Regions from separate parts of the Homo sapiens genome. Here regions 1 and 2 are each linked to region 3. Evidence: promoter capture Hi-C in 16 types of primary human blood cells and fetal thymus (Javierre and others, 2016). All regions are on one chromosome and are shown on one strand. Each heading gives the region's core, a stretch centred on a gene start or on the middle of the fragment in contact. The rest is flanking DNA. Distances are from core to core; before and after follow the strand shown. Region 1 overlaps SLC26A9 (solute carrier family 26 member 9). Region 2 holds the start of SLC26A9 (solute carrier family 26 member 9). Region 3 holds the start of CTSE (cathepsin E).

Evidence for each region. The method cuts DNA at HindIII sites, captures the fragments that hold promoters and counts their contacts. A CHiCAGO score of 5 or more calls a contact.
Region 1: a fragment that was not itself captured here is called in contact with the fragment with the promoter of CTSE in region 3 in 5 of 17 cell types (M0 macrophages, M2 macrophages, megakaryocytes and 2 more); the score reaches 7.3 in M0 macrophages.
Region 2: a fragment that was not itself captured here is called in contact with the fragment with the promoter of CTSE in region 3 in 3 of 17 cell types (activated CD4 T cells, naive CD8 T cells and neutrophils); the score reaches 7.0 in activated CD4 T cells.

What each region holds. Positions count from the first base shown.
Region 1 is chr1:205,912,459-205,916,108 of GRCh38, reverse strand. It overlaps SLC26A9 (solute carrier family 26 member 9), which reads left to right. Exons shown (of 21, transcript NM_052934.4): 21 at 705-3,057. The coding sequence ends at 752. Among named protein-coding and RNA genes, the nearest start is that of SLC26A9-AS1, 21 kb to the left of the region's middle. The HindIII fragment of the contact is 1,001 bases long and covers 1,154-2,154 here.
Region 2 is chr1:205,940,189-205,943,888 of GRCh38, reverse strand. It overlaps SLC26A9 (solute carrier family 26 member 9), which reads left to right and starts at 433. Exons shown (of 21, transcript NM_052934.4): 1 at 433-524. All of the region lies in intron 2 of SLC26A9-AS1 (SLC26A9 and RAB7B antisense RNA 1), which reads right to left. The HindIII fragment of the contact is 492 bases long and covers 1,366-1,857 here.
Region 3 is chr1:206,022,455-206,026,496 of GRCh38, reverse strand. It overlaps CTSE (cathepsin E), which reads left to right and starts at 2,602. Exons shown (of 9, transcript NM_001910.4): 1 at 2,602-2,773; 2 at 3,440-3,596. The coding sequence starts at 2,706. The HindIII fragment of the contact is 10,319 bases long and covers 1-4,042 here.

The DNA of each region.
Region 1 (3,650 bases), core at 405-2,904, 110 kb after region 3:
ACAAAACAAAACCTAAAAGATATGTGGATATGAGGGATCACCATCCCCATAGGGCCCCTGGATTAACACCACCCCACCAATGCCCTGAATTAAAAGAAACCAGATGACTAGGTTTGGAGAAATCTGGCTTTGGGTCTATGAGAAGTAGTGTCTCTCTTTGTGCCTCTTCCCATTCTTTTTGACATTGAGCTCCATGGTGCTCTGAATCCGTCTCTCACAGTGCTGATGGCAGGTGGGACAGATTAGAAAATAGAGCTGGAGCCACAGAGATTTGGCAGACTGATTTCGGTGCCCTCTTGGAATCTCCAGCACATTCCAAAAAGCCTGGATAGGACCAAAATAGCTTATCAACGTGAGAAAGGACTTCAGAGCTTGTCTACTGCCAACCCTCATTTTACCCAATGAGGAAAGTGAAGCTATTAGGGGGCGAGGGACACGTGGAAGGTCACACAGCACACAGGAGGTGATTCACATGTAGATTTCAGCACCTGCTCCTGCCACGCTGGACTGGTTCACCTCCTAGGCTGACCCTGCCTCTCCCCTGTTCACACACACTCTCGCACACACACACACACACACACACACACACAGGTGCTTTGTTCTGGCCAGGGGTTCCTAGGGTCACCTCTTGGTTGCAGCCACTGTGACCCCAACTGGTCTAACCTCTCTCTTCCCCTCCCACTTCCTTCCTGTGGTTCCTGCAGGAGATGTTCGGGAGCATGTTTCACGCAGAGACCCTGACCGCCCTGTGAGGGCTCAGCCAGTCCTCATGCTGCCTACAGAGTGCCTGGCACTTGGGACTTCCATAAAGGATGAGCCTGGGGTCACAGGGGGTGTCGGGCGGAGGAAAGTGCATCCCCCAGAGCTTGGGTTCCTCTCTCCTCTCCCCCTCTCTCCTCCCTTCCTTCCCTCCCCGCATCTCCAGAGAGAGCCTCTCAGCAGCAGGGGGGTGCTACCCTTACAGGAGTGAGAGTCTGGTGAGCCCACTCTTCACCCGTCAGGCCCTGGCCGCAATGGACAAGCCTCCTGCTCACTCCACCCCACCCACCTCTGCCCTGTCCTTGGCAGCTGAAGGACACCTTGACTTCCAGCTTTTACGAGTGAGCCAAAAACAGAAGGACAAGTACAACTGTGCTGGCCTGCTGTACAAGCTTCAAAAAGTGTCCCAGAGCCCACACGGCTCGGTGTCAGATGGTGTCAGGCTGTCACGGACATAGGGATAAACTTGGTTAGGACTCTGGCTTGCCTTCCCCAGCTGCCTCAACTCTGTCTCTGGCAGCTCTGCACCCAGGGACCATGTGCTCTCCACACCCAGGAGTCTAGGCCTTGGTAACTATGCGCCCCCCCTCCATCATCCCCAAGGCTGCCCAAACCACCACTGCTGTCAGCAAGCACATCAGACTCTAGCCTGGACAGTGGCCAGGACCGTCGAGACCACCAGAGCTACCTCCCCGGGGACAGCCCACTAAGGTTCTGCCTCAGCCTCCTGAAACATCACTGCCCTCAGAGGCTGCTCCCTTCCCCTGGAGGCTGGCTAGAAACCCCAAAGAGGGGGATGGGTAGCTGGCAGAATCATCTGGCATCCTAGTAATAGATACCAGTTATTCTGCACAAAACTTTTGGGAATTCCTCTTTGCACCCAGAGACTCAGAGGGGAAGAGGGTGCTAGTACCAACACAGGGAAAACGGATGGGACCTGGGCCCAGACAGTCCCCCTTGACCCCAGGGCCCATCAGGGAAATGCCTCCCTTTGGTAAATCTGCCTTATCCTTCTTTACCTGGCAAAGAGCCAATCATGTTAACTCTTCCTTATCAGCCTGTGGCCCAGAGACACAATGGGGTCCTTCTGTAGGCAAAGGTGGAAGTCCTCCAGGGATCCGCTACATCCCCTAACTGCATGCAGATGTGGAAAGGGGCTGATCCAGATTGGGTCTTCCTGCACAGGAAGACTCTTTAACACCCTTAGGACCTCAGGCCATCTTCTCCTATGAAGATGAAAATAGGGGTTAAGTTTTCCATATGTACAAGGAGGTATTGAGAGGAACCCTACTGTTGACTTGAAAATAAATAGGTTCCATGTGTAAGTGTTTTGTAAAATTTCAGTGGAAATGCACAGAAAATCTTCTGGCCTCTCATCACTGCTTTTCTCAAGCTTCTTCAGCTTAACAACCCCTTCCCTAACAGGTTGGGCTGGCCCAGCCTAGGAAAACATCCCCATTTCTAACTTCAGCCAGACCTGCGTTGTGTGTCTGTGTGTTGAGTGAGCTGGTCAGCTAACAAGTCTTCTTAGAGTTAAAGGAGGGGGTGCTGGCCAAGAGCCAACACATTCTTGGCCCAGGAGCATTGCTTTTCTGTGAATTCATTATGCCATCTGGCTGCCAATGGAACTCAAAACTTGGAAGGCGAAGGACAATGTTATCTGGGATTCACCGTGCCCAGCACCCGAAGTGCCAAATTCCAGGAGGACAAGAGCCTTAGCCAATGACAACTCACTCTCCCCTACTCCACCTCCTTCCAAGTCCAGCTCAGGCCCAGGAGGTGGGAGAAGGTCACAGAGCCTCAGGAATTTCCAAGTCAGAGTCCCCTTTGAACCAAGTATCTAGATCCCCTGAGGACTTGATGAAGTGATCCTTAACCCCCAAGTAATCATTAACCCCCAGACCAGCCTCAGAACTGAAGGAGATTGTTGACCCAGTGACCTGGAGTTGAGGCTCAGGGAGAGATCTGCCACATGTCTGAGGGTTGCAGAGCCCGCTGTGGAGGTAAGATTGGAAACACATGAGGCAGAGGGAAGACATTGAAGAAAACATCTCTGCTGGAATATTTGGAAAAGAACACTCTTCTGGACCTGGTTGAAGCAGGAAAGATGGAGGCAAAGTAGTGAAATAATCCAGAATTTCAATGCTTTTGAATGTTCTTAGTGATACTGACCTGTGATAATATAATTCCCAGGGAGGACTGGGAACCTTATCTCTTGAGATATTTGCATAATTTATTTAATTTAAGCCTCATTCTCCTTTTGTTCATTTTGGTAATAAACTGGATTTGAATTGTGAACAAATGCACATGTTTGGGTGGTTTTATAGAAAAGCAAAACAAGTCACCTCCACAGAGACCTGGCCTTGCTTTGCATTATCCCGGGCGGGGGAAGCAACGAGGACTCAGATTTCTCTGTAGGTCTCCCAGCTCCTCTCCAGGTTCGATTTTCCATCCTGGGAATGCATAAACTTCCACAATCCAGCTAAAGAACAGAAACTGGGGAGAGAAGATTGGGCTGAGGGGTCCACACACCCAGGACGAGTATCTAGAGCCAACTCTGGATTTTTGTGGCTATAGGGGATGTCAAAGCCCCATCATCCCTCTGCATACCTTTCACTCACTAATTCTTTCACATTCATGGGATCCCATCGTTACTTAGCAAACCCTTCAGAATCCTTAGTGTGGGGCAGCACACAATCTAATCCCACCTTTCGCTCCCCTGTTTGTGAGACAATGCAAGGAGAGCAAAGCCATGGGATTCAAGTGTCATACAAGCTAGGTTGACTGTCAACTGTGTTTACCAGCAATCAGAAAGGGAAGAAGATAAGAGGAATCACGAAAAACAAAAAGCAAAGGCATAAAGGAGACAGAAAGAGGATGAAGTGGAAAGA
Region 2 (3,700 bases), core at 362-2,861, 82 kb after region 3:
CCCCTCAGGTGGCCTCAATAGCTCCCATTGTCCAAGAGGCTCTTTGGCCTGACCCCCAGCCCCATAAGCAGCAGGACAGCAAGCTCAGAGGAGCTTGTCCTGCCTTGTCCCCCTCCTCTGCCTCGTCCCCCTCCTCCAGGGCCGCCTTGGGGGAGCCGGTGGGGCAGGAGCCCCGCTGAATGTGACCTATTGTCTTCGGGGTGGATTTAGGAAGTGCCAAGCTCCCATCACACAGCCCTGCTCCCCAGGTAAAACAAAAAAAGGGCTGTTCATTTGGGACCTTTTCCCCCTTATCTCCTTTTCCTATCTCCTCAGGCTTAGCTATGGTGTAGTGTTCAAAACCACTTCCCCTCTGAGCCAATCAGAAGCCGGGGCTCACCCCGTGGCCCTGAGGAAAAGTTATTTATAAACGCCTCCCTGGATTATTTGAGCAGAGCCCTTTCACACACCTCAGGAACACCTTTCGGCTGCCCGCTCCCCAGACACACCTGCAGCCCTGCCCAGCCGGCTTTGCTCACCCACTGGTAAGCCCCACCCAGCCCAGCCCACCCCACTGGGCTGGGGTCATCCCTGCAAGAGGGCAGTCACCAGGGGTACCGAGAGGAGGGATGACAGGAACCAACTGCCAAGCTGAGCACAAGTAGGAAGGACACTCTGGCCCCTGGAGTCTGAGAGCAGCCTCCCAGCCCTTCCCCTCTGAGGAGCCCTTTGGGTCTTCACGTCTATGTAAGGACCTGGGCTGCAAGGCTGGGCTTGACTGAGGGAGCAAGTAGGGTGAGGGTGTGGTGGTCGCCAGACCCCGAAACAGAGCGAGGCAAAGGCCTCCGAGGGAAAGGAAAATGTTAGACCTTCCTCCGCGACAGCCTTTGAAGCTGTGGGCTGCTCCTCTCCCTTTCTTTTCAAGTCTTGGAGGGAAAAGCTCTTAATGCTTGACTCACCAGCCTACTCTGCATGGCTGTCTCCCCCTCCTTCTACCGCCCAGACATCCTCCTTCACTCATGTACTTCTCCACCAGCTCGGGGAACTTAGCATGGACTACACAGAATCCCATGTGTCCCCATTAGTCCTGAGAAGTTGGAAGAGGTGGAGGGGGAGGAAACTGAGGAGTGGGAGAGGGTGAGCAAGGGACCAGCTCCATCAGGCAGGCGGGTGGGCGGTAGCTGGACCTGGGACGCCCGACTCAATGGTGAATGCTTCAACACAGAAGGGCTTGGGCCAGGACAGTGGATGGGCAGCCAGCTCTCCAGGCTCTCAGCCTCCAAACCCCTCATCCTGCAGCTCCAAGGGGTTCCAAGCCACTCTCAGGCAGTGCCCCCATTCCTCAAAACCAGCCCAGAGGGTCCCCAGCTGAGACCTAACAAAGCTTCTATTATTCCAGCATCAACTGCCCCCTTACACTTGGCCCCACGGGTCTGAGGACCAGAAGACCCTGGAGTGACGCAGCCCCCCAAGTGGGCAGACTGAGAGAGGGCTTTCCCCCTGAGTGGCTTCACTCATGCAGATGACCCTTTCTCAGAACCCCACAGTCCTCCCCCACCTCCCTCATCCTGGCCCTGGCATCCAGAACCTGGCAAGACCCTGCTTGGGCAGCATGGAGACCAGCATGGCCAAGAGCACCTCCACTGCCAGGAAGGCCTTCCCAGGCACTTCCCAGAGCTAGCCACCTGCTCTCTGAGTCTCATTTGTATAAACCCTGGGGCAGAGACGGACTCCTCTTTATCTTTTAATGCCCAGAGTCTTCCGGAGATTGGCATATACCCAGTATTCAAGAGTGCCTCTTAAACCGTACTAAACAGCCAGACTGACCCCCGTGAACTTGCTGGGGGAATCGAGGACCAGCTCAACACTGACCAAGCTTTGGGGGCTGTGGGGTCACTACTTGGAAGATGGAAGGGGCAGAGCCACCCCTTCAAGGGGAGTTGATCTTCACTGGATGCCTCTCTGGGCTTTCGCCTGGATTTCTGGGACCAGAGCAGCTGGGCCCTTCACTGGTCTCCTTGCCCAGGCCCTGCTTCCAAGTGAAAGCAACCCCAGTCTCCTTAAAGACTTCTAGGAATTTAACCTCAAGTGCCCATTCCAGGGAGCCCATGACCTTGTCAGTCTTGCTGTTAGGAAGTGATTCTCAAAGTCTAGCCTTGGTCCCTCTTTCTGGAGCCTATTTCCTCAGCCCAGCACCCATTCCCAGCAGGGAAAGTGCAGAGGAGGGAGAGTTCGCCTGGAGATAAGGAGTGGGGATTTGGGGGGTGGTATCAGTGAATCTCTCTCCTACACGGGATGCAGTCTCTAAGACACCTTAGGGACATCTCATCCTCCCCTACACTGAGGAGGAAATTAGGCTGGGGTGAGGAGTAGGGAGAGATTTGCCCTGGAAACACAGGGACAGTAGAAGGAAAAGGAGTGTTTAAAAATGCCTTGGGGGGCTGGGCGCAGTGGCTCAGCCTGTAATCTCAGCACTTTGGGAGGCCAAGGAGGGCAGATCACTTGAGGTCAGGAGTTCGAGACCAGGCTGGCCAACATGGCGAAACCCCGTCTCTACTAAAAATATAAAAAATATTAGCTGGGTGTCATGGCGCGCACCAGTAATCCCAGCTCCTAGGGAGGCTGAGGCAGGAGAATTGCTTGAACCCAGGAAGTGCACCCTGTGGTGAGCCAAGATCGTGCCACTGCACTCCAGCCTGGGTGACAGAGGGAGACTCCACCTCAAAAAACAAAAACAAAAAAACAAAACAAACAAACAAAAAAGCCTTAGGGGTGCAGAGGCCTCTACATCCTTCCTCCTCCTGCCATGGATGTGGTCTCCCACTGAGACCCCAGCCAGCTTGTCTGTCCCAGCTCACATTCACACCTGGGTCACTCAGAGGCTGCTCTTACCCTGTGGCCCCCACCCTGGATGAGGCAGGGAGGCAACCAGCAGCTAGAGCAAAGGGGAAACCTCAAGGTGACCTTTCCTCTTCCCAGAACACAGCAACCGGCTGGCTAGGAACCAGTGATAAGGATGCCAGGGTGGGTTGGCCCAGCCGGGGCTGTTCCCGTACCTGGCACACATGCGTCAAAAACCCCCTCCCTCACATGCACACCCCCGACAGGACTGAGGGAGGAAGTCAGCCTGGCCCACAGTGACAGGATCACCTCCAGATCCAACCAAAACCCACAAATGGACCCCTCACAGTCCTGCTCTGCAGATGTTCTACCCTCTTCTGACAAGATTTTCTGCTGTTCCTCTCATCAAGTCCTGGGAAAATTTGGAGGGGTTAAGGCATGGGGCAGCAGGTATAGGGGCAGATGGAAAAAGGCAAGCCAAAAAAAGGCAGAGTGCCCACTAGAGATGGCAGAGCAAGAAAGAGGCTCCTCTGGAGTCATAGCAGTAATGATGATAGTTGGAGTTTATTGCATGCTTCCCATGGCCAGGTGCCGTTCCGAGCCTTTCAGTGCATCCACTCGGGCACTGTCTCTGCCTGAGCCCATCTCTGCCCAAGCCCATCTCTGCCTACAATATTTGGATGGTGTTGACAGAGACCTGGTTAGAAATGTGACTGGGAGAAGGTACCAGGGGCGTGCTTTGGCATGAGCTCATTGGAGGAGAAATCCTGGAGAATCTCAAGAGGGAATCTGCTCCAGCCTGTGCCCTCCCTGCAGGGTCTATTTTCTCTTTGCTTCCCCTCTCCCAGCTACTCCGGCTCGCACGACCCCTGCATCCCCT
Region 3 (4,042 bases), core at 1,353-3,852:
ACCTTGCAGAAATCTCCATAGGCTTCACGTTTTCTTCTGCAGCTTCCTCACCTCTCTCTGCCTTCATAGAACTGAAGAGTGTTAGGGCCTTGCTCTGGATTTGGCTTTGACTTAAGGGAGTGTTGTCACTGCTTTGATCTTCTATCCAGACCAATAACACTTTCTCCATATCAGCAAGAAAACTATTTTGCTTTCTTATCATTTGTGTGTTCCCTGTAATATCACCTTCAATTTCCCTTAAGAACTTTTTCTTTGCATTCATGACTTGGGTAACTGTTTGGTGTAAGAGGTCTAGCTTTCAGCCCTTCTTGGCTTTCAACATGGCTTCCTCACTAGGCTTAATAATTTCTAGCTTTGAATTTAAAATGAGGAACATGCAAATCTTCCTCTCACTTAAACACTTAGAGGTCACTGTAGAATTATTAATTGGCCTAATTTCAATATTGTTGTGTCTCAGGCAACAGGAAGGCCCGAGGGGGAGAGAAAGAGAGGGAGAGAGAGAGATGGGGGAATGACCAGTTAGTAGAGCAATGGAGCAATCAGAACACACAATTACACTTATTAAATTCTCTGTCTTACACGGGTGCAGTTTGTGGTACCCCAAAACAATTACAACAGTAACATCAAAGATCACTGAGTACAGATCACCAAAACAGATAAAATAATCATGAAAAACTTTGAAATATTGCAAGAATTACCAAAATGTGGCACAGAGACACAAAATGAACACACAGTATTGGAAAAATGGTGCTGATAGACTTGCTTGACACAGGTTTGCCACAAACCTTCAATTAAAAAAAAAAAGCAGTATCTGCAAAGTGCAGTAAAGCAGAGTGCAGTACAACAAGTATATCTGTACCTTATTTTGTTTGTTTAATCCTCCTTAAAAACCCATTGATGTAGGTAAGGTATTTGGCAGATGACAAAACTAAGGTATGTGGTGAATAAGCAGTTACGGGCAAAACATGGCAGAGTTTACTGCCAAAATGAATGATCTCCACTTCTAGCCACTTCTGACTCAAGCTGCCCTTCTAGGTTTAGACCACTCTCCCCAGTGAAAGATCAACAAGACGGGCTCCTGGGAAATGCCAAAGAGGCTTTGTTGCCTTGGGTTCAGGGGTCAAAGGTCTAGGCTGTTCCTTAAGTCTTTTTGATGTCTTTTTTTAACATTTTTGGACCCAAGGGTGGGTTTGGCTTAGCTCCATACTCCACGTTTGCTTGCCATTTGAACTTCAGAGATGAAAGGCAGATCCCATAGCACTTAAGAGATTTTCCAGAACACTAGCTGGTCAGGGCAGAGCTAAACCTAAACGCAGGCCATCTACTTCCTACTGCTGAGCTAGTGCCCTCTGGAAGCATTGGCATATGGTGGTGGCCTCTGCTGCCCTGGCTAACTTGAGTCAGGGTCAGGGTCTTCCTACCTGTAACCCCTTCATCCCCACCCCAGGCACTGAAGCCCCACCATCTGTTTATGAGGCGGGTGGCCACAGAGATAGGCTGATGGTGAGGGGGTTTCACACACTGCGGTAACTAAGGCCTGAGCCCCACCCACTCTCCACCCCTGCGCTTAGTCCCACTTGACAGATAGAAGATCCTATTGTCCCTGAGCACTGTTAAGGGCTGAACTTTGTCCTCCAAAATCCATGTTGATGTCCTAACACCTAGTACCTCAGAACGTGACTGTATTTGGAGATAGGGTCTTTAAAGAGGTATTAAGGGTAAACGCAGTCATTAGGGTGGGCCCTACTCCAATATGACTAGCGTCCTTATAAGAAGAGGAAATGTGGATGTGGACACAGCCACACGCTGAGGGAAGACCCATGTGAAGACACAGAGAGAAGGCAGCCATCTGCAAGCCAAGGAGAGAGGCCTCCGAAGCAACCAAGTCTGCCAACACCTTGATCTTGGACTTCCAGCCTCCAGAATAGTGAGAAAATAAATTTCTGTTGTTTAAGCCCCCTGTACTTTGTCATGGCCGCTTTAGTAGACTCATGCGGGCACTTGCTGTAGACGCTGACCCCCTTGACCCTCCCTCGCTGCCCCTGCATTCTCCTCCACACACCCCTGAGCCCCAGCCCCAGATTCATCAAGTCCTTAGAGTCAGGAGAGTGGGCTCCATAAATCTGCAGCTACATTTTCCCATTTCAGGGCCTTTGAGGAGTGCTGGTTTGTGCTTCAAAGTGGGCCAGGGAAGGATAAACTGCCTTTGGAGCATTTGAGAGATTGAGGAGAGAACAGGAATCACCCAGAAAACAGACTGACGAATATTTTGAGTTAGAATCCTGCCACCCATGACAAGTCAGCTCCCACCCCTCCAGAGTCTCCAGCTAGAGCACTTGCAGTAAGAGTTCAGTGGGCCTTTCCAGGCAGCCAGGCATGTGCTGCCCTCCGGATTCATTAACAGGGTTTCTTGGGGTCAGAGGAGGTGCCAAAGCCCTGAGAGAAGCCAAGCCCCAGAGGACTCCCAAGTTCTCCCCGCAGACTCATATTCCTCTTGTAGGTGGGAAAGGGACGGAGAGGTGCAGGGGGAACGCCCTGTTCCACATGCCGTATTTACTCTGGGCATGGCTAATGACTCCAGGGCCTTATCATTCGGCCCTCAGACTGGGCTGGGCAGGTCTGAGAGTTAGGGAAAGTCCGTTCCCACTGCCCTCGGGGAGAGAAGAAAGGAGGGGGCAAGGGAGAAGCTGCTGGTCGGACTCACAATGAAAACGCTCCTTCTTTTGCTGCTGGTGCTCCTGGAGCTGGGAGAGGCCCAAGGATCCCTTCACAGGTGAGAAGACGTCCCCGCACTGTGTTCAGCTGGGTAGTCCCATGCCCTGCAACTCAGGGCTGCTCTGGGGTAGGAAAGCTGATGGGGAGGTGAAGAGGAGGAGAAGCTGAGGGCTTGCGTCAATGCATGGAAGAGACTCATCCAGTGACCGCCTGTGTATGGCCTTAATCTCCAGTCCTCAACAAGTCATCCTCCTGCCTCCACCTCCACGGAGGTGCCTTCCCAAGTCCCAGGGGTCTTCTTGTGTTGCAAAAGAGCAGGAACCTGCAGTTGTGGTTTGTAGCTCAAAGCGCCCCAGGACTTCCCCAGGGGACTGACCATCACTGTCCCCAAGAGTTTTTCTGTCCCTTTAAATCAGCCCTTCGTGATGTTCATGTAAAACTGTAGACCGCCCCACATCTCCCATTTTCCTAGATCTCAAAGACCTCAGCTCCAGGAGGGGAGCCATTTCCACTCTAAGATTCTAAGACTCTATAGGGCAGAGATGAGGCCGGGCAGGCTGAGTGGCAGAGAGGACGCTGATCCCACCTGTATCCTGCGTGCTGTCTTGCAGATCCCCCCCTCCCACCCCATCTTCTCTAGTTGGCCCCTGAGAAAATGGGACGAGAATGGGGGGAAGAGGGAGGCAGAAGTACATCTCCTGCTTACATGGGGGTTTGTCTCCAGGGTGCCCCTCAGGAGGCATCCGTCCCTCAAGAAGAAGCTGCGGGCACGGAGCCAGCTCTCTGAGTTCTGGAAATCCCATAATTTGGACATGATCCAGTTCACCGAGTCCTGCTCAATGGACCAGAGTGCCAAGGAACCCCTCATCAACTACTTGGATGTGAGGCCTCCTGGGGTCAGGGCTGGGGAGAGGTGGGAGCGGGAGGAAGGCCCAGCATTAGGGCATGGCCAGTGCCACATCAGTAGCACCGAAGGCCATTGTGGATTTCTTCACTTGGATGATGATCCATGGGGACTGATTCCCTGGGTCCCCATGGAGTTGGCTAAGCAGGCCCCCATGTACCCAAATGTCAGAGTTCTCTGCAGAAGGAAAGGGCTGGGAGTGAAAGCATCATCCCACACTGAAGGCCCCTGCTTCTGCTCTCAGCTGGGCAGCTTACTGGCTGTGTACCCTTAGGCAAGTTACTTAACCTCTCCCAGCCCCAGTTCCCTGGTCTGTAAAACAGATGGTTCTTCCTCCACTGCCTCTCCTACAATGTATTTATAAGAATCAGGTTAGTGCAAGTAAAATCAAATGAAGTAGCCAGAGGCTTGGTTTGATTTCCT